2 separate regions of the Homo sapiens genome follow, and region 2 is linked to region 1. The links are contacts of gene promoters, found by promoter capture Hi-C in blood cells and fetal thymus (Javierre and others, 2016). All regions are on one chromosome and are shown on one strand. The core of a region is centred on a gene start or on the middle of the fragment in contact, and the rest is flanking DNA. Distances in the headings are between cores, read along the strand shown.

Region 1 (5,492 bases), core at 1,322-3,821:
TGGGATTACAGGCACATGCCACCATGCCCTGCTAATTTTGTACTTTTAGTAGAGATGGGGTTTCACCATGTTGCCCCAGGCTGGTCTTGAACTCCTGACCTCAGATGATCTGCCCGCTTTGGCCTCCTGAAGTGCTGGGACTATAGGCGTGAGCCACGGTGCCCAGCCTGCTTGGCTAATTTTTTTGTATTTTTTTGTAGAGATGGGTTTTTACCATGTTGCCCAGGCTGGTCTCGAACTCCTGGGCTCAAGCTATCCGCCCACCTTGGCTTCTCAAAAGTGTTGGGATTACAGGTGTGAGCCACTGTGCCTGGCCGGTGCTACACTTTAAAACGACTACATTTCATGAGAATTCCCTTAGTACCTGGAGGACAGCACCAAGCCATGAGGGATCCTCCTCTATTACCCAAATGCCTCCCACCAGCCCCACCTCCAACACTGGGGATTACATTTCAATGTGAGATTTGGGCAGGGACAAATATCCAAAATATATGAATTATGTTCTGAGTTAGCCAGGTGAAGTAGAGGGACGCCAAAGCCACTCTAGGCAGAGGAGACTACAGGAGCAAAGACCCTGCAGCCAGAAACAGGACAGGGGTAGTTGGACAAGAATGACCTTGTCAGGGTTTGCCTTTTTCTTTTTCTTTTTGAGACAGAGTCTCACTGTGTTGCCCAGGCTGGAGTGCAGTGGTGCAGTCATGGTTCACTGCAGCCTTGAACTCCCAGGCTCAAGCGATCCTCCCACCTCAGCCTCCCAAGTAGCTGGGACTACAGGTAGGTGCCACTACACCCAGCTATGTTTTTGTATTTTTTTGTAGACAAGGGTTCTATCATTTTGCCCAGGCTGGTCTCCTGAGCTCATGTGATCCACCCATCTTGGCCTCCCAAAGTGCTGGGATTACTTGTGTGAGCCACTGTGCCCATCCTCTTTTTCTTAAAGGTTGTTCTCTCCCCACTTCATGGTCCTATTGCCCTTTGTCAGCATCTGTTAACTAGCACAGGCCCACAGTACTTTGAATTACAGTGGGCACATTCACCCACAGATGTTCACTAGGCACTCCCTAGGGGATGGGCAATGTGCTGGGTGCTGCAGGAGATACAGCTCCTGCTTTCCAGAAGTTTATATTCCCTTGGGGGAGAGGGAGATGTGAGGAGTAGAGGGTAAACACGGTAAGGGCAGGTCTCCCTAGCACCCTGCTCTCTATTCAGCACAAGGCCAGCAGTGGACATCGTCGTCTTGCATTATTCAGGTTTATAGGCCAATACTGAAATCTATCTTATTCATCATCCCGTGAGCAGGGGAAACATCATTAGGGTTTTCTATACCAGGATGATAGTGAGCATGTAGTAGTTTTTGTTTTTTTGTGTTGTTTGTTTGCTTTGTAATTTTGTTTTCTTTTGTTTTTGGAGTATTCACTATGAAGATAAGAAAGGGTAAGAATAAAATGCCCCAAATGACCAGAGGAATAGAGATAGAAGTCAGGTCCCTCAAATTTGTTGGAGGAGGGGGACAAGCTGGGAGGGGGGACGTGCTGGGGGCGGGGCGGGAACAAGCCCAAAAAGGGACAGCTGCTGCGGTGCCTCTTTTGTGTTTGTAAATGTCCTCCCCGCAAGGTGGCTCTAGCCTGTAATCCCAGCACTTTGGGAGGCTGAGGAGGATTTCTTGAGCCCATGAGTTTGAGACCAGCCTGGCAACATAGTGAGACTCTGTGTCTGTAGTTCCAGCTACTCCGGAGGCTGAGGTGGGAGGGTCGGTTGTCCAGGGATTTGAGGCTGCAGTGGGCCGTGATCGCGACACTCCACCCCAGCCTGGGCGACAGAGGGAGACCCCGTCTTAAAAAAAAAAAAAAGTCCTTGATCAAGAGGGCTTCGGGTGTTTCCATCTGTGGAGTGAGGGGACGGGTTAGGTGAATTCTAGGGGCGCTTCCACCTCACATTATGAAAGGTCCTGAGAGTCAGATTCTAGTTCCACTGTGTCCCGAAGCTGTGGGGCCTTTCCTTAGCCTCCGCTTCTCCTTCTGTAAAGCCAGGTAGTTGGCCTAGATCACTTTTCCAGAAGACTGTGACTCCGGGACACCTGTGACACTCTTGAGGGGAGCGTGCCCAGTACCCCTGGTCGCGTCTCTGGGATTCCGCCGGGGTGGGGGCCCGCGCGAGGCCGCCCCTGAGCCTCACCTGTGCGCGGAGCGGTGACTCACCTGCCCTCGCGCAGCCCTCTCCGCCCGCGGGCTGTTCCAGGAGTCACCGCTCCTCCTCCCTCTCAGGGGTCACTCCCGGCCTAAGCTCCCACTAGGGGCCGGGGAGGAAGGAATTCTGAGGTGGGCGGCGGGGAGGAAGAGGTCCCTCGGGGGTCCCGGTCCGGCGTTGCCAGACTCTCTTCGCGGTGGGGGCCTTCCCTTTCCCCAAAAGCGGAGGCCGGAACGGCCGGGAGGAGCGGGCGGGGCGGCGGCGGGAGGCGCCGGGAAGAGCGAGTCGGAGGGAGGTGCCAGGAAGGGCGGGCGGGGCCGGGACAGGGGCGGGGGCCGCGGGCGGGGGGCGGGCCGGGGGCGGGGGCGTGGGGCGGCCCATTTCCTCCTCCTAGCCGGACTGGAGGGAGACAAAGCAGCGCCCGTCTGCTTCGGGCCTCTGGAATTTAGCGCTCGCCCAGCTAGCCGCAGGTAACTTCGTACCTCCCTCCTCGCGGGCGCGGTCTCTCGGGCCAGGCCGAGAGGGTCCTTGGGCCGGGCCGTCCCAAGCTGGGCCCCGCGAGCCGCGGGCGGGCGAGCGGGCGGGGCGCGGTTTCTTTGGCGACGTCGCCGGGAATTGGGCCCCGGGCGGGCGTGGGACCCGCGTCGGGCCGGCGGTCCCTTCCCCCGCAGGGCCCGAGTATGGGGCCCGGGCGGGCACGGCCGGCGCTTCCCAGCGCTCGGGAAGTCGGGGGGCCGCCTGGGCTGGGGAGGAGAAACTATAGGCCCAGCGCCGCCGCCGCGTTTCCTCTTGGAAAAGTTTTCTCGCGGTTTCCAAACTTTGTTACCGCGGCCTCGGCGCGCGCGGCAGCCCCGCGCCGGGCCCCTCGGCCGCCTTCCTTCCCTGGGGCGGCTTGTCTGGGAGCCGCTTTCCCGGGAAGTGATTGTCGTCCGGCTCCGAGGCGTTCCTGCCCCCTCCCCCTTCCCGGCCGCTGAGACTTCCCGATGGGGCGGCGGGGACGCGGGCTCGGCGAACCGGGAGGCTGGAGCCCGGGCTTCTCCCATACAGCTTCGCCGTAGGTGGGCCACACCCGTGTGGACTTTTGGCGTGACCGTCCACTTGGACTCGGGGATTACTCAGCTTTCCTGGGTTTCTTGTCGGTTGGACGCACTTAGCTTTCAGCCCTAGTTTTCAGGAGTGGCATTAGAGAGGTTTTTTTTTTTTTTTAATTGTTGTTGACTTTTAAAGGAGCGTGTGTGTGCGTGCGAGTGTGAAGCACTTGTTGGAAAAAATGTTGCCTGAATGAATGCCTGACCTTTGCTTGGCAGCAGTGGCTTCCCAGTAATGCAGGCGGCGGTTGGCCCAGTTCCAAGGTTGACTCCCTCTTACGTCCTCTTGCATCTTGGTGACATTTTTTTGGTGCGTGTGTTTTGTACAGAATTTACAATTATTTGGAAAAGAGCGAGATATGTCAAGTCTACGACTAAATTCGGGGCATTTTATATTTATGATGAAGGAAATGCTTACATCATTGTTGGGACAGGATAGGCATTTTGTGGAGCGAATATTTGTGTTTAGTCAGCAGTGATTTTTAAATACTGGACAGGTGGGTGTTACTTTAAGGAACGGAATTTATAAATCGAATTAATTAGGATGTGTTATTTTGTTTTACAGGAAGAATGAAGAATGAGTGTAGGAGTTACCTATAGTTTCTGCCTAATTATTTACCAATCTGGACTTTTGAACAAACATTTTTTTTAAAGACGGGGTCTCCGTCGCCCGGGCTGGAGCGCAGTGACACGATCATGACTCACTGCGGCTTCTGTCTCCTGGGCTCAAGTGATCCCCCCACCTCGGCTTCCGAAGTAGTTGGGACTACAGGCACGCGCCACCACATCCGTCTAATTTTTGTATTTTTGGTAGAGATGGTGTCTCGCTGTCTTGCCCAAGCTGGTCTCGAACTCCTGGGCTCAAGTGGTCCTCCTGCCTCAGCCTCCCAAAGTGTTGTGATTACAGGCCTGAGCCAGGGTGCCTGACCCCATCTGGATATTTATTCAGCGAAAGAATAATTTTTTAATCCACCTAAGAGCTCACAGTGTAATAGGGGAGACACACACCCCAGGTGTAGTACAGAGCGGACTGCAGTAAGTGCCTTAACAGTACTAATGAAACTATTGTCTGAGTCAAATCTTACCTAATAGTAACAACAAAAGAAACTTGTAGAGGCACGGAGAGGGGGCTAATAAGTTTTACTTGGGTAAGTCCAGAAAGGCTTTCAGGAGGTGGTGGCATTTGATCTGGATGAAACATGAGTCGAGTTTTTTTTAAGTGAAGGGAGAAAGTCATGAGAAGCATAAAAGGGCATAGGAGTTTGGGGAATTGTGATATCACTCTCCTGGTTTTCTTTTCCTTTTGACTCATCTCAGTTTCTTTCTTTTCCTCGCCCTCACTCTTTCCTCTCGTACCCAGGGTTCTTTCCAAAGTATCTTTGTCCTCCACACCACTGATGTGGCATCACCTTCACTCCCATCAGTGATATCTCATTTCATATAGTGACTTAGAGATGAGAGGTACCCTCCTCCAAGATGAGAATCACTGCTCTGTGCAGTCTCTTCTGTCATCAGCCTTATGTGCTAAAAGTCCAAGCCTTTGAGTGCAGGTGTGTCTCCTGACCCACATGGTCACCTGTGCATTGGGAAGCTTTTTGGGTGTCCCAGGCTTCTCAAACTCAAGGTGTCCAAAGTGGGACTCCTGTCTCTTCTGGAGACATGAACCAGATGTGGAGATCCAGGGTAACTGCCCTGCCCGGGTTTTGGGATTTCCTTCTTTTTTTTTTTTTTTTTTTTTTTTTTTTTTTTTTTGATGGAGTCTCCCTGTGTTGCCCAGGCTGGGGTTCAGTGAGGTGATCTCAGTTCACTGCAAACTCCACCTCCTGGGGATTCAAGCGATTCTCCTGTCTCAGCCTCCGGAGTAGCTGGGATTACTAAGTGCAAGCTACCACGCCCGGCTTATTTATTTATTTATTTATTTATTTATTTTGAGATAGTCTTGCTGTGTCTCCCAGGCTGGAGTGCAGTGGCATAATTGCGGCTCACTGCAACCCGTGCCTCCTGGGTTCAAGCAACTCTCCTGCCTCAACCTCAAGGAGCTGGGATTACAGGTGTGTGCCAACATGCCTGCCTAATTTTTTTGTATTTTTGATAGAGAGGGTTTCACCATGTTGGCCAGGCTGGTCTCAAACTCCTGACCTCGTGATCCACCTCGGCCTCCCAAAGTGCTGGGATTGCAGGCTTCAGCCACCGTGCCCAGCCTGATTTTTTAATTTT
Region 2 (5,492 bases), core at 2,092-4,591, 590 kb after region 1:
GTAACTTGACAAGAACTATAGAACCCACTTGTGTTTCTTTAAGGGATGGAGGTTAGGGAATGGAGATTTCCTCTAATGATTCAAGGCTGTGCACGTTGCTCCTTAGGAACTCAAATTGAGGTAGGTAATTTCACCCTCTTTTGGTCAGAATGAGTTTATAGCAGGCTTTTCCTTAAATAAGCACTCTGCACTTTATTCAGGTTTATCACTTTATGACTCTAGAGTGTGATGCTCCAGTTTTAGTGAAAAACTTGAACACTTAGCACAGCAATTTGGTTGATACTGTGGGAGATTAAAGAATGTGGAAGGCAAGACCTCTGCCCCCTTGTAATCTAATAACCTTTTGTGCTTTTAAAACATTTTCTTGTAATTTACATCCTATTGTCATTCATTATCATGAAACGTGAAATGGGCAGAGCAAGTTTTTTTTTTTTTTTTTTTTTGAGATGGAGTCTCACTCTGTCGCCAGGCTGGAGTGCTGGAGTGCAGTGGCGCAATTGGCTCACTGCAACCTCCGCCTCCCCGGGTTCAAGCGATTCTCCTGCCTCCGCCTCCCTAGTAGCTGGGACTACAGGCGCTTGCCACCACGCCGGCTAATTTTTTGTATTTTTAGTAGAGACAGGGTTTCACCGTGTTAGCCAGGATGGTCTCGATCTCCTGACTTTGTGATCCGCCCCCGTCGGCCTCCCAACAGAGCAAGTTTTATCTTGCCCATTTGGGAATTAAAGAAATAGAAGCCTGAAAGATTATTTTTATTTAGCAAATATTTATATAACAATAATGCCAGGCATTGTTCTCATTGCCTTTACAAATATTAACTAATTTGATCCACAACATAGCTAGAAGGTAGGCCCTACTGTAAAATGAAGATAACAAATGAGACGTGAAGTAACTTTCCCAATGTCACAGAGCTATGATAGTCGGAATTCAAATCCAGATAGTCCAGAGATTCTATGCTCTTAACCATTATGTGGTGCTGTGTGATTTAGTGACAGGTCTAGGGTACTTTAAGGTGGCTATGTAGCATAGCTGGGATTTGAACCTACGTCTTCTGACTGTGGTCTAAGATTAAAGTTGTCCAAGTCATTGCCTTTGTGATCTAGACCACCTGTTGCACAGGTGCATGAATAGTTTGCATTTGATATAGGCTAAGGTTCAGTTCCAAAAAACTCCCTTTTTTCTTAATTTTTTCATTGTTTAGAGTGGTGCTGTCCAATGATGTAGGTACTGTGTGTGGTTATGAGCACTTGAGATGTGGCTAGTGTAAATGAAGAACTAAATTTTAATTAAATAGATCTGTGTAGCCGATGGCCACCATATTGGATGGGCACACGTTTGGAGAATTTGAATAGCCTCTGCTTCTTATATCAGTTTGTATAAATTTGGGTGGCATTTCTAATGTACTTGAGCTTTTATCAGTTAGGATGACCCATTCTTGCTCTCACCTAATTACCCTTGTTACACTACAGTTGAGATTAGGGTAGACTTTGGGATTTTCTTGTGACATTGTTTCACCTCTGTAGATTTAAGATCTCTAATTTTTACCTTGTCCCTTGGTCTAGAGACCTTTAACTGCCCTAAATATTTAATCACCGAGATAGTTAATGCCAATTGTTATGTGCTAGGTTCTCTAACTAGGTACTATTATTAATTCCCATGCAACAGATGAGGAAACCGAGACTCAGGTTAAGTAACTTGCCATGGTCACACAGTTAGTAAAGCAGCCTGGTTCCAGAGCCCATGGGTTTTTGTTGTTGTTGTTGTTGTTGTTGTTTTTGAAACGGAGTCTTGCTCTGTTGCCCAGGCTGGAGTGCAGTGGCGCGATCTCGGCTCACTGCACGCTCCACCTCCAGGGTTCATGCCATTCTTCTGCCTCAGCCTCCTGAGTAGCTGCACCCGACACCACACCTGGCTACTTTTGTTTTTGTATTTTTAATAGAGACGGGGTTTCACCGTGTTAGCCAGGATGGTCTCGATCTCCTGACCTCGTGATCCAACGGCCTTGGCCTCCCAAAGTGCTGGGATTACAGGTGTGAGCCACCGCGCCCAGCCCAGAGCCCATGTTTTTTAATCGTTACCTTACTGTGCCAAATAGTAAAACAAAAAATTCGGTGCTTTTCACAGACTTCAGAGTGGAAAACAGACCAATTGAAAAATGTTGCGATCCTCTTTAACTGCCAAAGGAAGTATGCTTAAACGTATATATGCGTAAAATACGATTAAAAAATATGCAAATAAGGTAAGGATCACAGTGGTTCAAAACAGAGTCCAAGGGAATGAGAAAAGATGGTGCCTATGGAGGTAGATTAATGAAAGAAACAGAAGAGAACTATGCTTGAATTTTTTTTTTTTTTTTTTTGAAACGGAGTCTTGCTCTGTTGCCCAGGCCTGAGTGCAGTGGCATGATCTCATTTCACTGCAAGCTCCACCTCCCGGGTTCATGCCATTCTCTTGCCTCAGCCTCCTGAGTAGCTGGGACTACAGACGCTTGCCACCATGCCTGGCTAATTTTTTGTATTTTTAGGAGAGATGGGGTTTCACCGTGTTAGCCAGGATGGTCTCAATCTCCTGACCTTGTGATCCGCCCACCTCGGCCTCCCAAAGTGCTGGGATTACAGGCGTGAGCCACCGCACCAGGCCTATATTTGAATTTTAATGAGAATTCTTAAAAGATGAAACTAGTGGAGAAAGATTGTAAAACCTAAAAGATTTCTGTATTTTAAAATTCCATAGACAATATAAAAGGACACTGCTGGAAACCAATATGTCTAAGAGGCATTTCAGGAGGGGAAAAACAGCTGAAGACACAATAAAGCCCTAAGTTGATAAATTGAAAGGGTTTGCTGACTTCCAGGCAGTAGTACTGGGAAAAAATTGCTCTTACCTATCCAAAATCTGGTGAAATATATGAATTTGTTAAAACATCTTAAGCTGTCGTCTAGAACAGGATTTTTAAATTTTTATTTATTTTTTTGAGACGGAGATTTGCTCTGTCACCAGGCCGGAGTGCAGTGGCGCAATCTTGGCTCACTGCAACCTCCGCCTCCCAGGTTCCAGTGATTCTCCTGCCTCAGCCTCCCCAGTAGCTGGGACTACAAGCATGTGCCACCACGCCCAGCTAATGTTTGTATTTTTAGAGACGGGGTTTCACCATGTTGGCCAGGATGGTCTCAATCTCTTGACCTCATGATCCACCCCCTTGGCCTCCCAAAGTGTTGGGATTACAGGCGTGAGCCACCGCACCTGGCCTATTTTTATTTTTTGAGATGCAGTCTCCCTCTGATGCTCAGGTTGGAATGCAGTGGCACCATCTCAGCTCACTGCAACCTCTGCCTCCCAGGTTCAAGCAATTCTCCTGCCTCAGCCTCCCGAGTAGCTGGGACTACAAGCGTGCACCTCCATGTCCAGCTAATTTTTGCATTTTTAGAGACGGGGTTTCGCCCAAGTTGGCCAGGATGGCCTCAATCTCTTGACCTCGTGATCCACCCCCTTTGGCCTCCCAAAGTGCTGGGCGTGAGCTGCTGCGCCCAGCTTATTTTTATTTTTTGAGATGCAGTCTCAGTCTGTTGCTCAGGCTGGAATGCACCATCTCAGCTCACTGCAACCTCTGCCTCCCAGGTTCAAGCAGTGCTCCTGCCTCAGGCTCCCGAGTAGCTGGGACTACAGCTGTGCGCCACCATGCCTGGCTTAGTTTTTGTATTACTAGAGATGGGGTTTCACCATGTTGGCCAGGGCCGGTCTCAAACTCCTCACCTCAAGTGATCCACCTCCCTTGGCCTCCTAAAGTGCTAGGATTATAGGTGTGAGCCACTGCACCCAGCCTAGAACAGGATTTTTAAAAGGAAAGAAAATTGATTTTCTACAACATTGAAAGTTGGAATTATTGACAATAGATTATCAACAGGAAGCACAGACATCTCAGAATTCTGTTACAACTAATTTTTTTTTTAGCACATTTACATGGAAATACTCATGTTACAACTTTTTTTTTTTTTTTTTTTTTTTAAGACACAGTTCCGCTCTGTCGCCCAGGCTGGAGTGCAGTGGCGCGATCTTGGCTCACTGCTACCTCCACCTCCCGAGTTCAAGCGATTCTCCTGCCTCAGCCTCCTGAGTAGCTGACACTACAGGCGCCCACCACCATGCCCGGCTAATTTTTGTATTTTTGGTAGAGGCAAGGTTTCACCATATTGGCCGGGCTTTTCTAGAACTCCTGACCTCAAATGATCCACCCACCTTGGCCTCCCAAAGTGGTGGGATTACAGGCCTGAGCCACCACGCCAGGCCATACAACATTTTTATTCAAACATGAAGGCAAAAGATGTTTTGTAGCATTAGGAGATACACCTAATGCTAAATGACGAGTTAATGGGTGCAGCACACCAGCATGGCACATGTATACATATGTAACTAACCTGCACATTGTGCACATGTACCCTAAAACTTAAAGTATAATAATAATTTTTAAAAAACTGTGGTACATCCATAAAAAAAAAAAAGATGTTTTGGACACTGGCTTAGAATGATAAATCCTCAGGTAGCCTTTTGAACTATTTTACAAAGATAGGAAGTTAGGGGAAGATGATGAATATAAGAAACAACTCGGCCAGTGTGGTGGCTCATATCTGTAATCCCAGCACTTCGGGAGGCCGAGGTGGGCGGATCACCTGAGTTCAGGAGTTCTAGACGAGCCTGGCCAACATAGTGAAACCCCATCTCTACTAAAAATACAGAAATTAGCCAGGCACAGGCATGGTGTTACACACTTGTAATTCCAGCTACTCAGGAGGCAGAGGTTGCAGTGACCCGAGATCGTGCAGCTGCACTTTAGCCTGGGCAACAGAGTGAGACTCCATGTCAAAAAAAAAAAAAAAAAAACTACGAGTGATGAATTTATTTATTTATTTATTTATATTTTTTGAGACAGGGTCTTGCTGTGTCACCCAGGCTGGGGTGCAGTGGCGTGATCTTGGCTCACTGCAGCCTCTGCCTCCCAGGCTCGAGCAATTCTCCTGCTTCAGCCTTCTGAGTAGCTGGGACAACAGGGGACCACCACCAAGCCTGGCTAATTTTTTTTTTTTTTTTTGAGACGGAGTCTCACTCTGTCGCCCAAGTTGGAGTGCAGTGGCGTAGTCTCAGCTGACTGCAAGCTCTGCCTCCCGGGTTCACGCCAATTTCCTGCCTCGGCCTCCTGAGTAGCTGGGACTACAGGTGCCTGCCACCATACTTGGCTAATTTTTTTTTGTATTTTTAGTAGAGATGGGGTTTCACCGTGTTAGCCAAGATGGTCTAGATCTCCTGACCCCATGATCTGCCCACCTCGGCCTCCCAAAGTGCTGGGATTACAGGCGTGAGCCACTGTGCCTGGCCACGCCCAGCTAATCTTTGTATCTTTTTTTTTTTTTTTTAAAGTCAGAGTTTCACTCTTATTGCTTAGGCTGAAGTGCAGGACACAGTCTTGGCTCACTGCAACCTCTGCCTCCCAGGTTCAA

Evidence for each region. The method cuts DNA at HindIII sites, captures the fragments that hold promoters and counts their contacts. A CHiCAGO score of 5 or more calls a contact.
Region 2: a contact is called between a fragment that was not itself captured here and the fragment with the promoter of CTNNA1 in region 1, in 1 of 17 cell types (M0 macrophages). The highest score is 5.5, in M0 macrophages.

What each region holds. Positions count from the first base shown.
Region 1 is chr5:138,750,854-138,756,345 of GRCh38, forward strand. It overlaps CTNNA1 (catenin alpha 1), which reads left to right and starts at 2,572. Exons shown (of 18, transcript NM_001903.5): 1 at 2,572-2,657. It overlaps CTNNA1-AS1 (CTNNA1 antisense RNA 1), which reads right to left and starts at 3,071. Exons shown (of 2, transcript NR_134244.1): 1 at 2,670-3,071. RefSeq lists a silencer at 2,462-2,901 and enhancers at 2,605-3,172, 3,173-3,739. The HindIII fragment of the contact is 6,352 bases long and covers 1-4,864 here.
Region 2 is chr5:139,343,287-139,348,778 of GRCh38, forward strand. The region is part of intron 1 of PAIP2 (poly(A) binding protein interacting protein 2); the gene reads left to right. Among named protein-coding and RNA genes, the nearest start is that of PAIP2, 4.2 kb to the left of the region's middle. The HindIII fragment of the contact is 8,536 bases long and covers 1-5,492 here.